Regions from separate parts of the Homo sapiens genome. Here regions 1, 3 and 4 are each linked to region 2. The links are contacts of gene promoters, found by promoter capture Hi-C in blood cells and fetal thymus (Javierre and others, 2016). All regions are on one chromosome and are shown on one strand. The core of a region is centred on a gene start or on the middle of the fragment in contact, and the rest is flanking DNA. Distances in the headings are between cores, read along the strand shown.

The links. The method cuts DNA at HindIII sites, captures the fragments that hold promoters and counts their contacts. A CHiCAGO score of 5 or more calls a contact.
Region 1: a contact is called between a fragment that was not itself captured here and the fragment with the promoter of ATP5MC2 in region 2, in 6 of 17 cell types (megakaryocytes, endothelial precursors, erythroblasts and 3 more). The highest score is 10.5, in megakaryocytes.
Region 3: a contact is called between a fragment that was not itself captured here and the fragment with the promoter of ATP5MC2 in region 2, in 16 of 17 cell types (endothelial precursors, megakaryocytes, naive CD4 T cells and 13 more). The highest score is 17.4, in endothelial precursors.
Region 4: a contact is called between a fragment that was not itself captured here and the fragment with the promoter of ATP5MC2 in region 2, in 3 of 17 cell types (endothelial precursors, megakaryocytes and erythroblasts). The highest score is 7.9, in endothelial precursors.

Annotation. Positions count from the first base shown.
Region 1 is chr12:53,570,233-53,572,932 of GRCh38, reverse strand. The region is part of intron 2 of ATF7-NPFF (ATF7-NPFF readthrough); the gene reads left to right. The region is part of intron 2 of ATF7 (activating transcription factor 7); the gene reads left to right. The region is part of intron 2 of LOC124902937 (a long non-coding RNA gene); the gene reads right to left. Among named protein-coding and RNA genes, the nearest start is that of ATF7, 55 kb to the left of the region's middle. The HindIII fragment of the contact is 6,274 bases long and covers 1-2,700 here.
Region 2 is chr12:53,674,812-53,677,611 of GRCh38, reverse strand. ATP5MC2 (ATP synthase membrane subunit c locus 2) reads left to right here and starts at 1,529. Exons shown (of 5, transcript NM_005176.7): 1 at 1,529-1,559. RefSeq lists enhancers at 1,038-1,267, 1,378-1,827. The HindIII fragment of the contact is 5,549 bases long and covers 1-2,800 here.
Region 3 is chr12:53,552,810-53,555,509 of GRCh38, reverse strand. The region is part of intron 2 of ATF7-NPFF (ATF7-NPFF readthrough); the gene reads left to right. All of the region lies in intron 2 of ATF7 (activating transcription factor 7), which reads left to right. All of the region lies in intron 2 of LOC124902937 (a long non-coding RNA gene), which reads right to left. Among named protein-coding and RNA genes, the nearest start is that of ATF7-AS1, 40 kb to the right of the region's middle. The HindIII fragment of the contact is 4,672 bases long and covers 1-2,700 here.
Region 4 is chr12:53,590,420-53,593,119 of GRCh38, reverse strand. All of the region lies in intron 2 of ATF7-NPFF (ATF7-NPFF readthrough), which reads left to right. All of the region lies in intron 2 of ATF7 (activating transcription factor 7), which reads left to right. Among named protein-coding and RNA genes, the nearest start is that of ATF7, 35 kb to the left of the region's middle. The HindIII fragment of the contact is 682 bases long and covers 1,073-1,754 here.

The DNA.
Region 1 (2,700 bases), core at 55-2,554, 100 kb after region 2:
ACACCTTTAATCCCAGCTACTCAGGAGGCTGAGGCACAAGAATTGCTTGAACCCAGGAGGCGGAGGTTGCAGTGAGCTGAGATTGTGCCACTGCACTCCAGCCTGGGTGACAGAGTGAGATTCTCTCTCAAAAAAAAAAAAAAAATTAAATAGAGGCAGGGTCTCACTCTATCACCCAGGCTAGTCTCGAACTCCTGGGCTCAAGCGGTCCTCCCACGTCAGCCTCCCAAAATGCTGGAATTATAGGTGTGAGCCACCTTACTCGACCAGTACTCATCTATTTTTGAACTGCAGTTGACTATGGGTAACTGAAACCATGGAAAGTGAAACCACGGGTAAGGGGAGGCTACTGTACTTTTCCCTTTCCCCCCGCCAAAAGCACAAGAAATTTCCCCTGATATTCACCGTAAGAACCTAGTAGAGCTGGGAGAACCTGGAGGTAAATCTCACAACGGTGTGGGGGCTCCTCTGTGACTGGGTCTCCCTGGCATTTTTAACTCTCAGACTTGTCCACACTTGGCCTCTAGCTTCATCAATTATAGTTCAGGTTTTCCTCCCCTGGCACTTGATTGTCATGCAGGTTTCAGCTCATGGGTTTCTGCTCCTTTAGGTTGTGATTCTCTATATCTGCCAATTTGGGGAACAGCAGTTTGCCCTGTGAACTCACTTCTCTGATAGATCTATGAAGAGTTGTTAAGATTTTTCAGTTCAGCTTTTTATTTGTTGTTAGGATAGAGTGACAACTGTTATTCTAAGCTCTTTATATGCCAAGCCAAAAACCAGAAGTCTCAGTCCTTTTGGTTTATGAATCGAGTAAGAAATACATTTTACATTGCAACTTAAAACACTTTTTCTTTTTTTTTTTTGAGATGGAGTCTGGCTCTGTATCCCAGGCTGGAGTGCAGTGGCACTGTCTCGGCTCACTGCAACCTCCGTCTCTCAGGTTCAAGCGATTCTCCTGCCTCGGCCTGCCGAGTGTCTGTGATTACAGGTGTGCGCCACCACACCCAGCTAATTTTTGTATGTTTAGTAGAGACCGGGTTTCGCCATGTTGGCCAGGCTGGTTTTTAACTCCTGACTTCAGGTGATCTGGCTGCCTCAGCCTCCCAAAGTGCTGGGATTACAGGCGTGAGCCACCGTGCCCAACCAAAACACATTTTTTATATAATAGAAATTAGAGAGCCATGTAATAGTATTCACCCTTATCTAGTGTGATGTACTCTGTAGTTTCTTTTGTTGTGGTGGTGATATTTCAGTGCGGATTTGTCTCCCTGCTCCCTTTTTTTTTTTTTTTAAAGAGATGGAGTCTCACTGTGTTGCCCAGGCTGGACTCAAACTTGTGGGCTCAAATGATCCTCCCTTCTCAGTCTTCTGAGTAGCTGGGACTACAGGTGCACACCACTGTGCCTGGCTTTCCCTTTTAAAAAAATGCTGGTTACAGTGGTTTGTGGTTATGGGTATAATTGCTTGGAGTTTGTCACCTATTGTCTGTTATCTGCCTGCTCCTCTGCTGCTCTTAGAATGGAGATAATTATGTTTAAATTATGAAAAGATAATATGTATATTAGTTTCCTGTAGGCGTTATAACAAATTACCACAAACTAGGTGGCTTGAAAGAAAAGAAATTTATTATCTCACAGTTTGGGAGACCAAAAGCCCACCAAGATATTAAAGAGGACCGTATCCTCCTGAGAAGGCTCTCCAGGAGAATCCTTTCCTTGCCTCTTCCAGCTTCTAGTTGCTGCCGGCATTTCTTGGCTTGTGGTTACATCACTTCAATCTCTATGTCTTTCTTCACATTGCCCTCTCCTCTCTGTGTGTTTCTAATCTCCCTTTGCTGCTGTCTTAGAAGGACGCTTGTGATAGCATTGAGGGCCCATCTGGATAATCCCCTCATCTCAAAGCCCTTAATTTAATCACCATATAAGGTAACATTCACAGCTTCTAAGAATTAGAACATTGATATATCTTTGTGAGCTGTTATGGATTGAATTGAATTTTTATGGTGAAGTCTTAACCCCAGGTACCTTAAAATGTGACCTTATTTGGAAACAGGGTCATTGCAGATGGCATTAGTTAATATGAGGTCATACTGAAGTAAGGTGGGCCCCTACTCCAATATGACTGGTGTCCTATAAAAAGAGGAAATTGGACATACACACACACACACACACACACACACACACACACACACACGCACACAGGAGAACACTATGTGAAGGTTGGATTTATGCTGCCACAAGTCAAGGAATGCCAAAGACTGCCAGCAAGCCAGAAGCTAGGAGAGACATGAAACACATTCTTGCTGACATCCTTCAGAAGAAACCAACCCTGGTAACACCTCTGGCCTCCAGAACTGAGAGATAATAAAGTTCTGTTTAAGCCACCTGGTATGTTGTATTTTGGCAGGACAGGTCTATACTGGAGGCATTACCGGCCTACTATACTATGGTTGAAATCTGCATTTGCTATACTGTAGTGAGTTGTTACCTAGAGGTGAGGACTGGAAGTTCCAACCTCTTAGCCCCTGCCTGACACCCATCAGTATTTTTAATGGCCTTTGTATTTTCCTTTCTCTCCTCTCTTCCCCTAGGCTGTTGTAATGTGATATGAAGGTTAATAGGATCCCATTAGCACTTCCTGGTTTGTCTACATTATGATATAATGGAGTGGCAGGTTCTATATAATTGGAACAATTTG
Region 2 (2,800 bases), core at 280-2,779:
ACCACCCTCCTCTTCTCGCCCGCTTCTCCTATTTCTCCCCACTCCTTCCCCTCCCTTTCAGGAGCTCAGGGCCATAAAAATGCAGATGGAGGATCGGTGTGAAATAACGGGCCCATATAAATCCCTCTGCCGCCCGCCTGCAAGATGGATTGGCCGCATTGAAATTCCTCCGCGAGGATAATTAAACTCGGGGCCTCATCCGGGCAAAATTACATTCCTGTAATGGCGTCGCTCGGGGTCCCGGGAAATTGCTCCGTGGGCTTTCAGCGGCGGTTTTTATCGCCGGCCGGGGTGTGCCTGTCTGCGGCTCGCCTCTCCTCCGGGACCGTAAAGCTGCTGCCGTGATTTATCCTCCCCTTCTCCCAAATCCGATTAAATGGAGGAGCTCGGGGCCGGGGCGCCGCGGGGCCCGGGAGCCGGGAGGGGGCGGCGGGAAGGACGGGGCCAAGGAGGGGAGGACAAACGGCCCCTCAGAGAGTGGCGGATTTGCCTTTATTTACAGCCGCGGCTTTCTTTTTATTTTTTATTTTTTATGGGGTTTGGTGAGCTTTTCCCGTCTTTCTCGTGCTGCGTTCAAGCACGATGCAGGGACGGCAGGGGTTTGGAACTGGATAGGCCTTGTCGCCCTGTTCCAAAGGGCAGGGCAGGTCCTGTCTGGGAGACAAGGAGGCCTAGGAAAGATGAGGGCCAGGAAGCCTCCCCCACCTCCTTCCATCAGGGGAAGGGCGAGCGAAAGGGGAGAGAAAACCCACGTTCAGGAGAGCATGGGGGCGGGAGGGGAGGGCGCTGCTTATCCCAACTCGCGTAGTTGAAACCTGAGCAGAGGCTCGGGCAAGCCTGGAGTGACCTCGCAACCTTACAGCGGGTCGCAGGTGCCCGTTATTCCTAGACTGTCCCAGGAGCCAGGAAAGAGGGATTCGGATCATATTTAACCCTATCTTCTGGCTCGCTGATGCTGCTTCTCTCATGGTTTATCACCGGAATGGAAAGGAGGAAACGGGGAGTGGGGGAAAGGGCGAAGCCACCAGAAGCAGCTGCGGCATTTTGCTGACTATTCGCCCATGGAGCCGGTTTGCCATCCAGTGATGCCAGAGTCCCGGCGCGACAGAAAGCAGGACTCCCAAGATCTTCCTCCTGCTGCATTTTAGGCACTGAACCCCAATCCCGACCGTATGTTAACACTGAATTCTGAGTAGGAGTTTTGTTTTGGCAGTGTGACGACTGCGCATGCTCGGAAAGGGGACGCAAGTCCGAGATCCCAAACGCGGTACAGACCAAACCGCAGTCCACGTTACGGATCGGCTTACTCCGCGGAGTTGGCCTCATTTCTGCAGTCGGCGCTCCCTGTAGTTTCTCCTCTCGAACGCCAGGTGGAGCAACCGGCCGGATACCGCCACAGCCCTGGCAGGCGGCGCTGTGATGCCTGAGCTGATCCTGTATGTTGCAATCACTCTATCCGTGGCTGAGCGACTCGTTGGCCCGGGTCACGCATGCGCTGAGCCTTCCTTTCGCTCTTCCCGCTGCTCCGCCCCTCTCTGTCTTCTCTGCAGTGGGAGCAGGTAAGGCCTTGGGACCTAGAGCCCTCTGTGCGCTGCGCACGCGCGCGGGACACCTCACCTTGCGCGGATGCTTTGAGGCGCTTACCTTGCGTGCTCCCACCCTGGTCCTCTCGCCCTTTCTTGCTTCCGCTATCCCTTAGCCTTAGAGTTGGCTCTTCCGCGTGCCGGTGACCTCCAACCGCGCGGGCCTGGCGCCATCTTGGATGTCTCGCAGGGGGAGGATACCTTGGAGCTGGCCAAAGTTAGATCCTGGAGTGCTGCTTTTCACCTGTTCCACCCAGTCCCTGCAAACACTCTTTTCTCGCCCTCTGGCCCTTTCAGATTGTGACAACCCCCAGGCTCTCCCCTCCTATCTCTGCTTTCTCTTCTCATCCTGACTTGTGCCTTCTTTATTCTGAAATCTCCAGACTTTAGGCCCCAGAACCTCAGGTGCTCCGAGCAATGGAGATAGTGGATCGTCTAAAGTCACCAATCCCTCTAGTCAGCACCCCTCAATTTAAAAAGTAAACCTTGAACATGGTAGAAGTGGGAAAAAAAGCCAAAACATCGCCTCCCGTTAGGTTGTGGCTTGGGATAGCTAAGGCAGAAGAGAGAGGCTGGTTGCTTTGGAATCACTAGTTATTTACCAGTACCTTTCTCGCATCCCGGCACGCTGGTGAAGTTGTAAAAGTCACAAATGGTGGGCTAGAGATGAGGGTTTCTGTTGAGGCAGCAGGCCCAGAAAGGTGGGGTAAGGCCAAGCTAGTGGGGCCAGCATGAGACCCTGCCTGCCAGCTTTCCTGTGAAGGATTAATTAACCTCCCCAGATTCTGCTGTTACAAGGAAAAGAAGGTTTAAGGAAAGGAATAGTTAAGTTACTACCCCTGTGACTCATCTACACTGAGGAAAAAGCCCGTGATGATTTTGGAGTCCTGATTCTGGATAGTGCCTTTGCCCAAGTTGTAGGCTAACAATTGCAGAGTTGCCATGGTTAGATAGCCAATGGTGGGATCACTTAATTGCCACCCCTTGTTGTGGGTTTATTATATGCCAGCACCACATTAAACTCTTTATGTATGTTAATTTGTAAATGAACATACTTAATCCCCCTAAGAGCTGCATTTTACAAAGAAGATAATAAGGTATAATTCCCTTAGAAAAGAACCACCCCTTCTTTTTCTAAAAGCCTTAAAGAACTATTGGATTTTGACCCAAGAAAACCTGAATAGTACGGCAGCAAAATTGGGTTAGAGTTACATATA
Region 3 (2,700 bases), core at 125-2,624, 120 kb after region 2:
AAAAAAAAAAAAAAAAAAATTATATTATTTTCTTCTTTATAAACTAGGTTCTGCTTATTTCCTCTTACCAAATACCTGGCAATCCCAGACCCTCTACAGTGACTTGTTTAACCTACAAATATCATACCCCTGGTTAATACACTATTCCCTCCTTCCCCCAAACCCTCACTCTTTTTTTTTTTTTGAGATGGAGTTTCACTGTTGTTGCCCAGGCTGGAGTGCAATGGCGCAATCTCGGCTCACTGCAACCTCCGTCTACCTGGTTCAAGCGATTCTCCTGCCTCAGCCCCAGCCCCCCGAGTAGCTAGGAGTATAGGCATGTGCCACCATGCCCGGCTAATTCTGTATTTTTAGTAGAGATGGGGTTTCATCATGTTGGCCAGTCTGGTCTCGAACTCCTGACCTCAGGTGATCCACCTGCCTCAGCCTCCCAGTGCTGGGATTACAAGCATGAGCCACCACTCCCGGCCACTTTTTTCTTACGGAAACATCTGTAACTGAAAAAGATGGTGCCTGGAGTTTACCAACAATAGAGAAAACTAAAGTTCTTGGTTAAATTTTTCCACATTTTATTCAGTTTTTGTCCTAGATCAATCAGAAACCACTGAGGCTGTCTTTTTTTTTTTTTTTTTTTTTTTTCTTTTTTTGAGACAAGGTCTTCCTCTGTCACCCAGGCTGGAGCTTAGTGGTGGGATCTCGGCTCACTGCAAACTCCACCTCCCGGGTTCAAGCAATTCTCGTGCCTCAGTCTCCCAAGTAGGTAGGATTACAAGCACCCGCCACCATGCCCAGCTAATTTTTGTGTTTTTTGTAGAGATGGGGTTTTGCCATGTTGGTCATGCTGGCCTCGAACTCCTTACCTTAAGTGATCCACCCACCTAGGCCTCCCAAAGTGCTGGGATTACAGGCATCAGCCACCGCACCTGGCCCTTTTTTGAGAAAGGGTCTCACTGGAGTACAGTGGTGTAATCATGGCTCACTACAGCCTCAACCTCCTGGGCTCCCCCCACCTCAGCCTCCTGAGTAGCTGGAACTACAGGTGAGCATCACCACACCCAGCTAATTTAAAAGTTTTCTGTTGCTGGGCATGGTGGCTCATGCCTGTAATACCAGCACTTTGGGAGGCCAAGGTGAGTGGATCACCTGAGGTCAGGAGTTCAAGACCACCCTGACCAATATGGTGAAACCCCATCTCTACTAAAAATACAAAAATTAGCCGGGCATGGTGGCATGCGCCTGTAGTCCCAGCTACTCAGGAGGCTGAGACAGGAGAATTGCTTGAACATGGGCAGCAGAGGTTGCAGTGAGCGGAGATTGCGCCACTGCACTCCAGCCTGGGCGACAGAGCAAGACTCCGTCTCAAAGATAAATAAATAAATAAAAATAAAACATTTTTGTATAGAAATGGGTTTTTGCCAGATTACCCAGTCTGGTCTTGAACTCCTGGCCTCAAGCAATCTGTCCACCTCAGCCTCCCAAAGTGCTGCAATTACAGGCATGAGCCATCGCGACCAGCCTGGGATTTTGGATCTTAAATTGGCTTTAGTTGTAAATTCAGGTAAAATAAAGTAGTAGAAACAGTTTGGTATTGCTTTCCTGACAGGTAGGAGCTGGATGGGGCCAACTCCCGTGTATTTTGTTTGCAGTCAAGAAGAGCTTTGGAAAAGAAGGCTAAACGTATAGTATTTGGTGAGAAGTATACACGTGATGAAGAAAGTAAAAAGAGACGACTAACCAATCACCATTTTTAGAAGCAAAAAGACAAACGGAACCATGTTTCAGAGCCTCAGTGTGAAGGAGCTGTGGAAAACTGCAGCATCCGGGCTGTTACTGTGTTGCAGTCATGTTTTAATGAAGGAATATGGCCAGGAGCCTCAAAGGGACTTTTGAGAATATTATTCTTTTGAATTACTGCTGTTCATCTGTTCCCTTCACTCTCCCCCTTTTAAGAAGGGGTAGGAGCATAAATTATTGTCCAGTAACCCTATTTTACTTAATCATAAACTGGATAGAGTTAGCCCACTTTTCTTCATTGTCCTTTCACCCAAATCCCAAAAAAATAAAATCTCTATACCATCTCCCTTTCTCTTCCCTCATCCTGCCTACAGGCTCCTCCCTACCCCTAAAAAAATATTTTTTCCTGGCATTTTTATTCTACCATTATATAGTCATCAGCATTGTACTGGCCTTTTTATGGCTGATGGAGCCCAGGCGGGCTGCCCGATGAGGGGAGACAGCATTTGGCCGATGGGGCTGGTATGTGCCATTATTGCTGGCCATTGCGCCTTGGTCCTCTACAGCTCCATCCTGGCTCATTAAAACTCTGAGCCAAATAGCCATGCAGGCGCCTGCTGCAGCACTGTAGGGGCCAAGAAGTTAAATGGTTCTCCTAATCCTGCATAATTTATCTCCCTGTTAGCGCCCTCATAAAAGAGTCCAATTCAGCCCTACCATGGAGGGCTTCATTCTCAATTTCCTATTTTTGTGATGGCCAACTAGTGCCCAGCCCTTCCCTTCTCTATTATTATTATTAAAAATTGCTTCCCCTTGTTCAATACGAGTTTGCCTTAATGTTTTTTTCATTTGGAGCCTCCTACTTGGACCCCACTTTACCAACAATCTGTCCACTTCTGTTGTTTGGACCTGATATTACAGAGCAGTTGGTGTTGTGGTCTTCCCCATCTCCTCTTCTCCCTGCGT
Region 4 (2,700 bases), core at 164-2,663, 84 kb after region 2:
AGTCTTTTAAAGTGGACTTTGTAATATTTTAAGAAAAGCCCCATGCTCTGGAGTTCAGTCATACTGAGATTTTAATCCTAATAGAGTCTTTATAACCAAATGATAAACCTTTCTGAAAGAATTACAGTGCTAGTCGACATTTGGTTAAATGTCAGGCCTTTGGTTATGTCTAAAAACTTAACACATAAAGTATAGTGTTTGCCAATATTATTTATAAAGCAAAATATCTTTATTTTTGTCCTCTTTCCATTAATTTTTGTGAAAAGGTTATGTATTTAGTTTGGGGGAAAATGTTATTCTGATTTTCTGCTTATAATTTTCTGTGCTGTTTTGCTATTACTAATCACTTTGCTTCAGTACCTATTGTACTAGTGTACTTAGTACAATAATACATGTTTTTTAAAATCACAATAGAACTCATCACCCCCAAATTTGAGGGTTTTTTTTCTTTGTTTGCTATCATAAGATAACAACACATGTTTTAAACAGAAATTGGGTATCTTAACTGTCAAGCCTAGTTTTCTTTTGTCTGTTGGGGGTTGAATCTATTTAACCACAGAGAGCTTGTCCTTTAAATCGTAGCATGTGGATGTTACTTTTGAGGTAGAATGTGTAGAATGGTTTTCTGTTTCAAAATCTCATCTTGAAGAATTGACATACAAATTGTGAAGAAGAAATAGTTTTAATAGTTTATTGTAGGGAGATGTTGCTTTTTAAAGTTTTGTCTCAAAATTATCATGTTAAGGATAGGATTTCAAGAAGGAAAGCATCATGGAGAAAAGATAGAAGCTTTGAGGTTTATCTCTTTGTAACAGTGCCTTTGTGTTTTTACTTCGAAATTTCTTTGTGCAGTGAAATATGCTACCTTTGTATTTGTGCTTTGGTAAGAATGTGGACTGTTTGCAATTGTCATGTGAAAGTACAAAGAGAATGAGAATGAATTTTGTGAAATTAGCTCATTCCCAGTCTGGCACACCATGTGCCCTGTGTGACTGCTGATTCTGCTGGCAGATTGAAGTGCCGAACCAACTTCTGCTCTAACTGCTAAAATTGCCAGCCATCATTCCAAGCTTTTAAATCTTGTTGTTCACATCAGCGATGTCAGATTTTGAGCAAACATAGCTCTGTCTTTAAATCCCAGTGGAATTTGCAATTCCCTGGATTGAAAGGAAAGAGTTGTTCCTTTTTGCCTTTGAAAAACTTGAGTGGCTGTGCGGGGAAAGTCAGCAGAATAAATCTGCAGCCTTGCTGTGTCCTTTGAGTCATTGTAGAAAGCTGAGTGCTCTGTTCGACATTCAGCAGATTGGCTGTCAGAGTTGCACCGCTGCTTATCAAAGACATGGTCTCTCAAAGAGCCATTTATGTTATTCCAGAGAGAATCATCCTGTGGCAAAAGGAACACCTCCTTTCTCCTCCCAAGGGTCAGATCTTCTTTTGATACTGGGCAATTATCCCTTGCTTTTCCTGAAAAATAGCTCAATCCACTATAAAGATTGGCACCAGCACAGGTTGCTGATTTGGTTACAATGACAAGCTCTGATTCCTTAGCCACAGGGAGAGGCATCAGGGTGATACTCGTAAGTATGCCAGAGGCTTAATGGTGGTGATTTTTCTGCTGAGAAACTCAGTGTCCCTTTTAAGTGTCTTGGCTTCTGTTCTCTTTCTGTGAGGGAAATAAATTTGTTTTAGTTGTTTGCACACTAGTCACTATAAAATGCCACTATGAGGTTGTCTTTCCTTCACTTCCTCAAGCTTCTTTCCTGTCTTTAGTTATTGTCCTTTAGTTACTGTTTGAGATCAAGCCCTACAGTCTAATTTTTTACATTTTTATGTCCTTTTTATACAGCTTATCTTGGCTCTTATTAGCCGTGGTACTGGTGGGGATTATTCGCCAGTGTTTCCTCTATTTAAAAAAATTAATAGACTTTATTTTTTAGAGCAGCAGTAAGCGTATAGAAAAATTGAGTGCAGAGTAGAGTTCCCGTATACCTCCTCACTCCACCCCTACTCACAATTTCCTTTATTGTTAACATCTTGCATCAGTGTGCTATATTTGTTACAATTGTTGAACCAAATATTAATACATTATTATTAACTAAAGGCCATAATTTTCATTAGTGTTCACTGCCTATACATTCTGTGGGGTTTCGCAAATGTATAATAATATGTATCTACTATAACAATACCATATGGAATAGTCTCACTGCCATAAAAATCTCCACCTATTCATCCCACCCTTCTGAACCCCCGGTAACCACTGATCTTTGTACTGTCTCTGTAGTTTCACTTTTTCTAGAATGTCATGTAGTAGGAATCATATAGCCCTCTGATTTTTTAAAGTTGTGAGTAGATAAGCATGTGATTGGAAATTGCTGGAAAAAAATGGGGAGAGGAAATTAGACGTGGGAGACTCCACAGCTCCAAGTTCTATCTAAAACTCCAAGCATTTATCCAGGGAGATTTAGGTGGCCCAGCCTTTCTTCTTCTCTGTTGGGAGTCTCTCTGATGTTATAGGAATTAGCTTGCCTAGTGACAGTTTTATTGGTTCTAGGTGTTAGGAGCAAGGACAAGATGAACACTGAATGGGCTGTATCTGGGGAATCAAGGTATTAGGGTTGAGCAAAAGCAAGAGGAAGTAGAGCATTTGATCTCTTTTCCTTTGATTAGGTTGAGGACAATAAAGTCTCATTCTCTCCCTTC